Linked DNA regions of Homo sapiens: region 1 is linked to region 2. The links are contacts of gene promoters, found by promoter capture Hi-C in blood cells and fetal thymus (Javierre and others, 2016). All regions are on one chromosome and are shown on one strand. Each heading gives the region's core, a stretch centred on a gene start or on the middle of the fragment in contact. The rest is flanking DNA. Distances are from core to core; before and after follow the strand shown.

Region 1 (4,048 bases), core at 1,193-3,692, 240 kb before region 2:
TAGTGCCGCAATAAACATACCTAATGCTAAATGACGAGTTAATGGGTGCAGCACACCAACATGGCACATGTATACATATGTAACAAACCTGCACGTTGTGCACATGTACCCTAAAACTTAAAGTGTAATAATAATAAAAAAATAAATAAAATAAAATGAGAAAATAATAATAATAATAATAATAAAAGAAACAGTATTAACCGTCACACCACCTCTTGCCTCTGGCTTCTCCACCCAAGACCTAACCCCTGGAGTCCTGAAACATTTCCTGCTTTCAATTCCTGTAGTGCTCAGAGTTAGAACTTTTCAGTTTATTTCCCAATTATACACTGTTTCTGTGATTTTATACTTGTGAGTCACCTCTTCTATTACATTATAAGCTTCTTGAAGGTAGTTTAAATGTTTCATGGAAAGCCAGTCAGTTCACATAGGGTTCTAGTTACTTTTCACCATCTCTACCACCAATGCCTCCAAATCCCCCACTAGAACTGCTACAATACCCAAGGGACTGATCTCTCTCTGTCCACTGTTGTTCCACAATCTATTTGCCACCTGCAGCCAGTGATCTTTGGGAAATACAAATCTAATCCAGACATTCCCCTGCCTAAAACCTCATTGGATGCAGCTGTGTTCCAATAAAACTTTACTTACCAAAACTTGTGATGAGTCAGATTTGTTTGCTGACCTCTGATTTAGATTAGCTTAGATTAGCTAGAATTACAGAGGTAAGAGAAAATTGGTTTTTCCAATCACAGTGAAAACAAACCTACAATAAGAATTCTCACACCCTAGATGTTTACTAAGCCAATCTTCCTGTCAGTGATTGACTCAAGAATGAACTATGACTCACCTCTGGCCAGTATGGAGAGGAGGTATACTGAGGACATCTGGGAAAATTCCTCCCACTCTTAATAAGCAGCTGCTGGTCTGCCCCTGGCCACTGCCTGGAATGGCTGTGTGATATCTGAAATCACTACAGCCACCAGCCTGAGGATGAAGCTTAACTAAGGAAGGTAGAACCAAAAGATGGAAAGAGCCAAATCGACCAACCATGGATCATGCCCTGCCTTTGGACTTCCCGTGAAGGATCTCTTTTCTTACTGTGTAACCCCATCAGAAATGAGGTTTCTGTGAACTGAAGCTGAAAGTGTCCTAATTGATTCAATTTTATATCTCCCCAAATTTATTTTAGTTACAAATATACCAAACCACTGGTACCTCCATGTAGGGAATTTCTTGTTTCTTTTAAGAGACATCATCATGGTATTTTACCCTTCCCTGAAAAATCGTCAGGTGTTGAGGCTGCCATTTCAAATCAGGAAAAAGGGAATAGCATTGCCCAGTTATTTTTTAATATTCATGCTCTTACCCCAGAATAAATACCCTGGAAGCCCCAGCCCTGCATTTTTTTTTTTTTTTTTTTTTTTGAGACAGAGTCTCACTCTGTCGCCCAGGCTGGAGTGCAGTGGCGCGATTTCGGCTCACTGCAAGCTCCTCCTCCCAGGTTCACGCCGTTCTCCTGCCTCAGCCTCCCGAGTAGCTGAGACTACCGGCGCCCACCACGACGCCCGGCTGATTTTTTGTATTTTTTAGTAGAGACGGGGTTTCACCGGGTTAGCCAGGATGGTCTTAATCTCCTGACCTCGTGATCCGCCCCCCTCGGCTCCCCAAAGTGCTGGGATTACAGGTGTGAGTCACTGCTCCCGGCCGCCCCAGCCCTGCTTTTGGAACCAATTCTTTTTAGGCTCTTCCTCTGACTCAACATAGCAGACATTAGTGACCACCTATCCTGCAGCCATTCTGTCCACTCGTCTTTCCTGCAATCAGAACCTTGATTTTGTTCAGCTATCAGGATACTGCATACTTTAGAAAAGACTGAACCTTCCCCTAGCTCTAGGGAGGATAATCTTCATTAATCTAAGTCCAACATAGAAATTCTATTTTCCCTACCAGTGAATGATTTAAGAATGGGCATGTCTAGAATTCTGAACAGTGACTAGGGGAGAGTTTTTCTGTCTTAAAAGGGGATACAAGAGAGATTTTTTCTGTTGTAAAGTACTTGAAGCTGCTGCAGCCATCCTGCAAGCCAGAGTCAAAAGCTAACATGATGAGCAAAGCACAGCAGAAGAATGAAGAGAACCTGGGTCCTAAATGATGGGCAGGTGCCAATGACTTAACTAAGCCCAGAATCATGTTACCTTAGGCTTTTTATGCTATCTTTCTACGCCAACTGAGTTCAATGTTCTGTTCAATGCCACTGGAACCCTACCAACTGGAACATTCACTGATAAGTTGCTGTGGGCAAATTGCATCTGGGTTCCTCACTTGTCTATACAGGTTAAGAAGAAACAGGCGTGTTGGCGGGCGCCTGTAGTCCCAGATACTCGGGAGGCTGAGGCAGGAGAAAGGCGTGAACCCGGGAGGAGGAGCTTGCCGTGAGCCGAAATCGCGCCACTGCACTCCAGCCTGGGCGACAGAGCGAGACTCAGTCTCAAAAAAAAAAAAAAAGAAAAGAAAAAGGAAAAGAAACAGCATGATGTTTCTGCTGCACTGATCTCTCTCTGAGGTAGTATATATAGACTGTGTACTGGTAAATTATTTTATGGACTCTATGAAGACTGCATGGATATCGTCTTAAAATATTAGGCAAGCCTAATGAATAAGTCAGAATGTTTTATACACCTCAGGCAAATTAGAATTTGCCTATACTTTATATTACAGTCTACTAAATCAATCACTTTAAAATTGGCACCAGGGATTGTAGTAAGATCATCAGACCTTCTAATAAATTTAGAAAAATTATCACAAGATAATTTTGAGTTTTTGTTATCAGATTTTCAGGCAGTTTGTTGTTATTTAATTTAGGATTCTTTAATTATCAAAGCAAAACATGAGAACCAGTTTTACAGAAAACAATTTTGCCCTTATCACTTCATCTTCACATGTGGAAAATATTCAAAGTTTGTTTAAAAACCTCTGATGCAGCCAGGTGTGGTGGCTTACACCTGTAACCCCAGCACTTTGGGAGGCCAAGGTGGGCAGATCACTTGAGGTCAGGAATTCAAGACCAGCCTGGCCAATATGGTGAAACATTGTCTCTACTAAAAAAATTACCTGGGCATGGTGGCGCATGCCTGTAATCCCAGCTGAGGCAGGGAAATCACTTGAACCCAGGAGGTGGAGGTTGCAGTGAGCTGAGATTGTGCCACTGCACTCCAGCCTGGGTGACAGAGAGAGACTCCATCTCAAAAAAAAAACCCAAAAAAACAAAAAAACCTCTGATGCTCAGACAAATAACTAATGCATGCGGGGCTTAAAACCTGGGTGATAGGTTGATAGGTGCCGCAAACCACCACGGCACATGTATACCTATGTAACAAACCTGTACGTTCTGCACATGTATTCTAGAACTTAAACTAAAAAAAACAAAAACAAAAACAAAACAAACACACACACACACGCACACAAAAACCTTGGATGCTCTGTTTTTTTCCCTCTTGTATCATTAAAAATAAAATTCTTGTTTTTATTCTCTTTTGTTTGGACACATTTTAGAGCCTTCCAAATGTGGTGATTATAACTTTTTATTGAATTACTACAAAGAATGATAATAATAATTATTATCACATTAGTATAAAGAATACAGAAAATCTTTGTCTCTATAATATCCCAAGGAATGACAAATTGTCAACATTTCTTTTAGTGGTAATTCATGGAAAATTAAAGAAAATATGGTATATTTTTATATTTATTTAGTTTAGTTTTTAAGTGAAACATTCTGCAGAATGGCACAAAAAATTGTGAACTTTTAGAGTTAAAAAGAATAATTCATTCTTACCAAGATTATGTAAAAGTATCAATTCTCTTGCCCTATATTTTTTTAAGGAAAGCTTCTTCTGGAAAGGATTAGCAGAATAATGAAAGAGAGGACTTAGGTATAATCTTCCTAATGAAGTCAATATTCACCTCCAAATACAAGTAATGTTTATACTAATTTTCTTTTTGAAGTTTGTGTCAGTATTACATGGGAGAGGAAGATGAACTCATA
Region 2 (4,055 bases), core at 748-3,247:
TGCTGACTTCAGGTTACACCCACTATCATTCCCAAGCACCACCTGAGGGTATACTCTGTGGAGGACCTTACACAGCCTTGTCCTTAATGGGCTGGCAAGCCTAGCTGGGAAAGAAAAGCTTTTCTCCAAACCTAGCTTGTCCGAGATTAACTTATGATGGAGAAGACTTCTTTGGTGACCTGAAAACTAAGAATAATCTCTGCAGCCAACACAGCAGTTTGATCTTTTTCCTGTTTTCCTCTGTTTAAGTTATTGTAGTAGACCATTAACCCACCCAGGTAAACATCACTGTTCCTCAATCTTTGAAGGGTATTACTTTCAAATTACATAATTTCATGGGGGAGGAGAGGGAATGCAAGGCTTCCTACAACAAGACTGACTTTCTTGACACCAGTGCTAAAGAAGGGGATGATCATTTTCACCATGTCAACATTATAGGAAGCAAGAGGAAAAGAAGGGGGGCAGGGGTCTATAGCTTCATAGACCTTTCCTAAGAGACAAAAGGGGCTTTGGAGGTGAGAATGTGGCTGAATTCAGGAAAAGCAAATCCACGCTAGGAATGTGCTGCAATATCCTAGTAAGGGGACTTTTCATAGGATAAAGCCCCACAGATTATGTAATCCTACACATAATGAGTGGACAGGGAACAGGAACATAAACCCTCTGGGAAAATCATGACTTTTTTAAAATCAGCTTTCTCAGGTTGAAATGATTTTTTTTCTCTTTCTCTAGTTGTCATTTCTGAAAGAAAGAGTTTATAAAAATATTCTGAGATTAAAGCCCAAGGTTGTGGGGAGGGAGGAGGCTTGGTTTTGGAGAAGGTTAGAGTTTAGATAGAGCAGGCTGCTCAGAAATACTGTCCAATCAGAGGGCTCAGCCTTGGCTGCAGACTGTAGTTTAGATTTTAGATTCTCTGACACTAAAAATAATGCCTCTTACCATGGAATAAACCAGAGACAGTTATATTTTCCTGTGTATGGAAGGAATGAACACACGCCCATGATACAGTGGAGAGAAATGTTACCCTCCCAGGTTAAGGCAGGTAACCTCGCTCAGGAAAAGGTTATCTGACAGCCAAGGACATAAAATAAATGCTGCAGGGCAAGCAGAAAACATGCATCATGCAAACCAGGGCTGCCGCCTCCTCACCTCCTTTCAGCCAGCCCAGCCTCCCAGTCCTCTTTCTTGGGCTGAGCTGAGATCTGCCTCGGGTGAAACGAGAGATCCCTATGGTTCCTCAAGTGCTTGGATGGAGAGCCCTGCCTGCTGTCTCCGGGAACGGAGCGCTCCACAGCCTGGGGACATTGCGAGACTGCCCTTGCCTGCTTCTGCTTCTAAGGTGGCTGCATTCCCAGGAACCAGAGCCTGCTTTTCCCGAGCTCTCCTAAAAATATTTATCCTCTGCCGGTCCCTATGGGAGAACGACAGTGTGAAGAAGGGTGGTTTATAAACTGCTTAAGGATTTGCCTTTTGACGTTGCAAACCAAGGAAGAGGAAGATATTTAGGACAGACGAAGGTTTAAACAGTTGTCAAATTCTATTCAAGCACTTCTTCCCCGTCACAAACGCAGACGGGGAAATGCAGATCTAGCCCGCTGCTAGCAAGGAGGCGAATGCGATACCCTGAAAATTCCCGACTGGACCACCTCAAAAAGCGACAGCCTCAATGCATTAGGAAAAACCTGCGTTTTCGTGGAACCCGGCGGAGGAATTTTGTATCCCCTTCAAATATTGCGTAAGAGGAGGAAGAGAGAAGCAGCGCTGGGCTGCACCTCACCACTTGCTGTGCACCCCGGAAAGTGGCGTCCAGCAGCATCAGCTTCCAGGGGTCGGACACGGAGCCAGGCAGCGGGATGTAGACGTAATAGGCGGCCAGCGCCACCAGGGCGGTGAGCAGGACACAGGACGACCTCATCTTGCCCTGGCTCGGCTCGCCAGCGGGCTGGCAAAGAGGAAAGGGCGATACCACCCGGAGACCTCCGGCAACTTTCTGCCCGCGGCAGCTGCTCATTCACGCGTTTCTTATAAGCCCAGGAGCCAATCAGAGGCTGCGTCGGGAGGAAGTTGGAGCGCGGACATGCCCCCTCTACGGTGTCCTTGCAAAGTGTGGCAGTCACTACAGGTTTGAGGAAGGCTCTGTCGCTGCTCTGGCCGTAGGCACAGCGGACTCTGGAGGACACTGGTTTGTACTGCATGCGTGTGAGGATGGCTTTCCTCCTGGAAGGTCTCAAACGGAAAATAGTTTCAGTGTGACGAGTCTCTGGACAAAGCAAGTGGGTCATTCTGACTCAGAGTACTGAGAAAGGATATAAAAATTCTGTTTTCTGGAGCCAGACTTGGAGTGGTTTGTAAGTTCTAGCTGATATATGGCAAAAGAAGATATTAAATTCTTCTGGCTCAAGCAATGAAAGGCCAGTAGTACATCTAGCACCCAAGTCTTGGTTTCTAAATCCTATGCTCCAATAAGAGGAACCACGGCTTTTTGACACAACCTCTGGAGAAAAGGCTGATACCAGGGCTGGGGCTGTAAAGTACAAGATGAACCTGTTGTGCCAGAGATGCGGAAGTGCTCAAAAAATGATAGGAACTGGTCAAAGGTCCACAGCTGCCAGCTTGAAGGGTCTCCCAGTGGCTGAAGCTGGGATAATTTTACCATCAATATAAATCATCATAATGGATAACCCATTGATTAAAATAAAACTCAACAATCTATATTAATATAAATAAATGAGGAAAGAAGAAAGGCTTTTCTTAAAATAGAATGCCAGCTAGTATCCATAGAAAATCATAAATGAATGCTAAAACTAGAGGGTAAAAATTTGACACAGAATTTTGGTCCTTCATCAGAAGATCTCTCCACAAATTACTACAAAGGGAAAAAATAATAACTTTTTATTGGAGAAACGTGTGGATATCACCTGAAAAATTCTTTCAGTGAGTCAATGGTAGCAGAAATACACTTAAACCCAGATTTCTTGTTAATGATTGGGGGTGAGGAGGGGTGGGTGAGTACTGAATGGGAGAGAGAAAACTTCACTAGCAAAATTTCAACCAGAAATCCAGAAGGAAAACAGTTAGAAGACCTGTTTCAAGAAAGTGGTAGGATGACAACTCCAAACTTATTGATGAAGGTCTTAAAACACCTAGTATATATAATTATGCATCTTAAGATGGTAATTTTAATTTAATCAAATTAATAGAAGTGAAATAACCATAAATTTGGTTCTGATAATGAGATTTTTAGGAAACAGTTGGCTTCTTCTTCAACATTGAAGGAAAACTGATAAGAAGGGCACACTTTCATGGTATTTCAAGCAAGTTCTCTCTCTCTTTTTTTTTTGTTTTGTTTGTTTTTGGTGTTTGTTTTTTGTTTTTTTTGAGACGGAGTCTTGCTCTTTTCGCCCAGGCTAGAGTGCAATGGCACGATCTCAGCTCACTGCAACCTCCACCTCCTGGGTTCAAGCAATTCTCTTGCCTCAGCCTCCTCAGTAGGTGGGATTACAGGTGCCCACCACCACACCTGGCTGATTTTTGTATTTTTAGTAGAGATGGGGTTTCACCATGCTGGCCAGGCTGGTCTCAAACTCCTGACCTTGTGATCTGCCCACCTCAGTCTCCCAAAGTGCTGGGATTACAGGCATGATCCACGGCACCTGGCCTCTCTCTCTCTCTCTCTCTCTCTCTCTCTCTCTCTCTCTCTCTCTCTCTGTCTTTTAAGTTACTGGTTAAACTCATAACTCTAAACAGATAGGAATGTTTATGTTTATGTTTGTGTGTGAGTATATGTGTAGAAAATTAGAAGCTATTCTTTTTTTTTTTGAGATAGAGCATCGCTCTTGTCACCCAGGCTGGAGTGCAATGGTGCAATCTTGGCTCACTGCAACCTCTGCCTCCCGGGTTCAAGCCATTCTGCCTCAGCCTCCCGAGTAGCTGGGATTTCAGATGCCTGCCACTAAGCCCAGCTAATTTTGTATTTTTAGTAGAGACAGGGTTTCACCGTGTTGGCCAGGCTGGTCTTGAACTCCTGACTTCAGGTGATCCACCTGCCTCAGCCT

Evidence for each region. Contacts are between HindIII fragments. The CHiCAGO score rates a contact against its expected background, and 5 or more counts as called.
Region 1: a fragment that was not itself captured here is called in contact with the fragment with the promoter of NCEH1 in region 2 in 1 of 17 cell types (total B cells); the score reaches 6.4 in total B cells.

Annotation. Positions count from the first base shown.
Region 1 is chr3:172,466,580-172,470,627 of GRCh38, forward strand. No RefSeq gene overlaps it. Among named protein-coding and RNA genes, the nearest start is that of GHSR, 20 kb to the left of the region's middle. RefSeq lists a silencer at 746-946. The HindIII fragment of the contact is 2,891 bases long and covers 998-3,888 here.
Region 2 is chr3:172,709,070-172,713,124 of GRCh38, forward strand. It overlaps NCEH1 (neutral cholesterol ester hydrolase 1), which reads right to left and starts at 1,998. Exons shown (of 5, transcript NM_020792.6): 1 at 1,778-1,998. The coding sequence starts at 1,915. RefSeq lists enhancers at 1,450-2,649, 1,779-2,048, 1,970-2,264, 2,309-2,448. The HindIII fragment of the contact is 17,687 bases long and covers 117-4,055 here.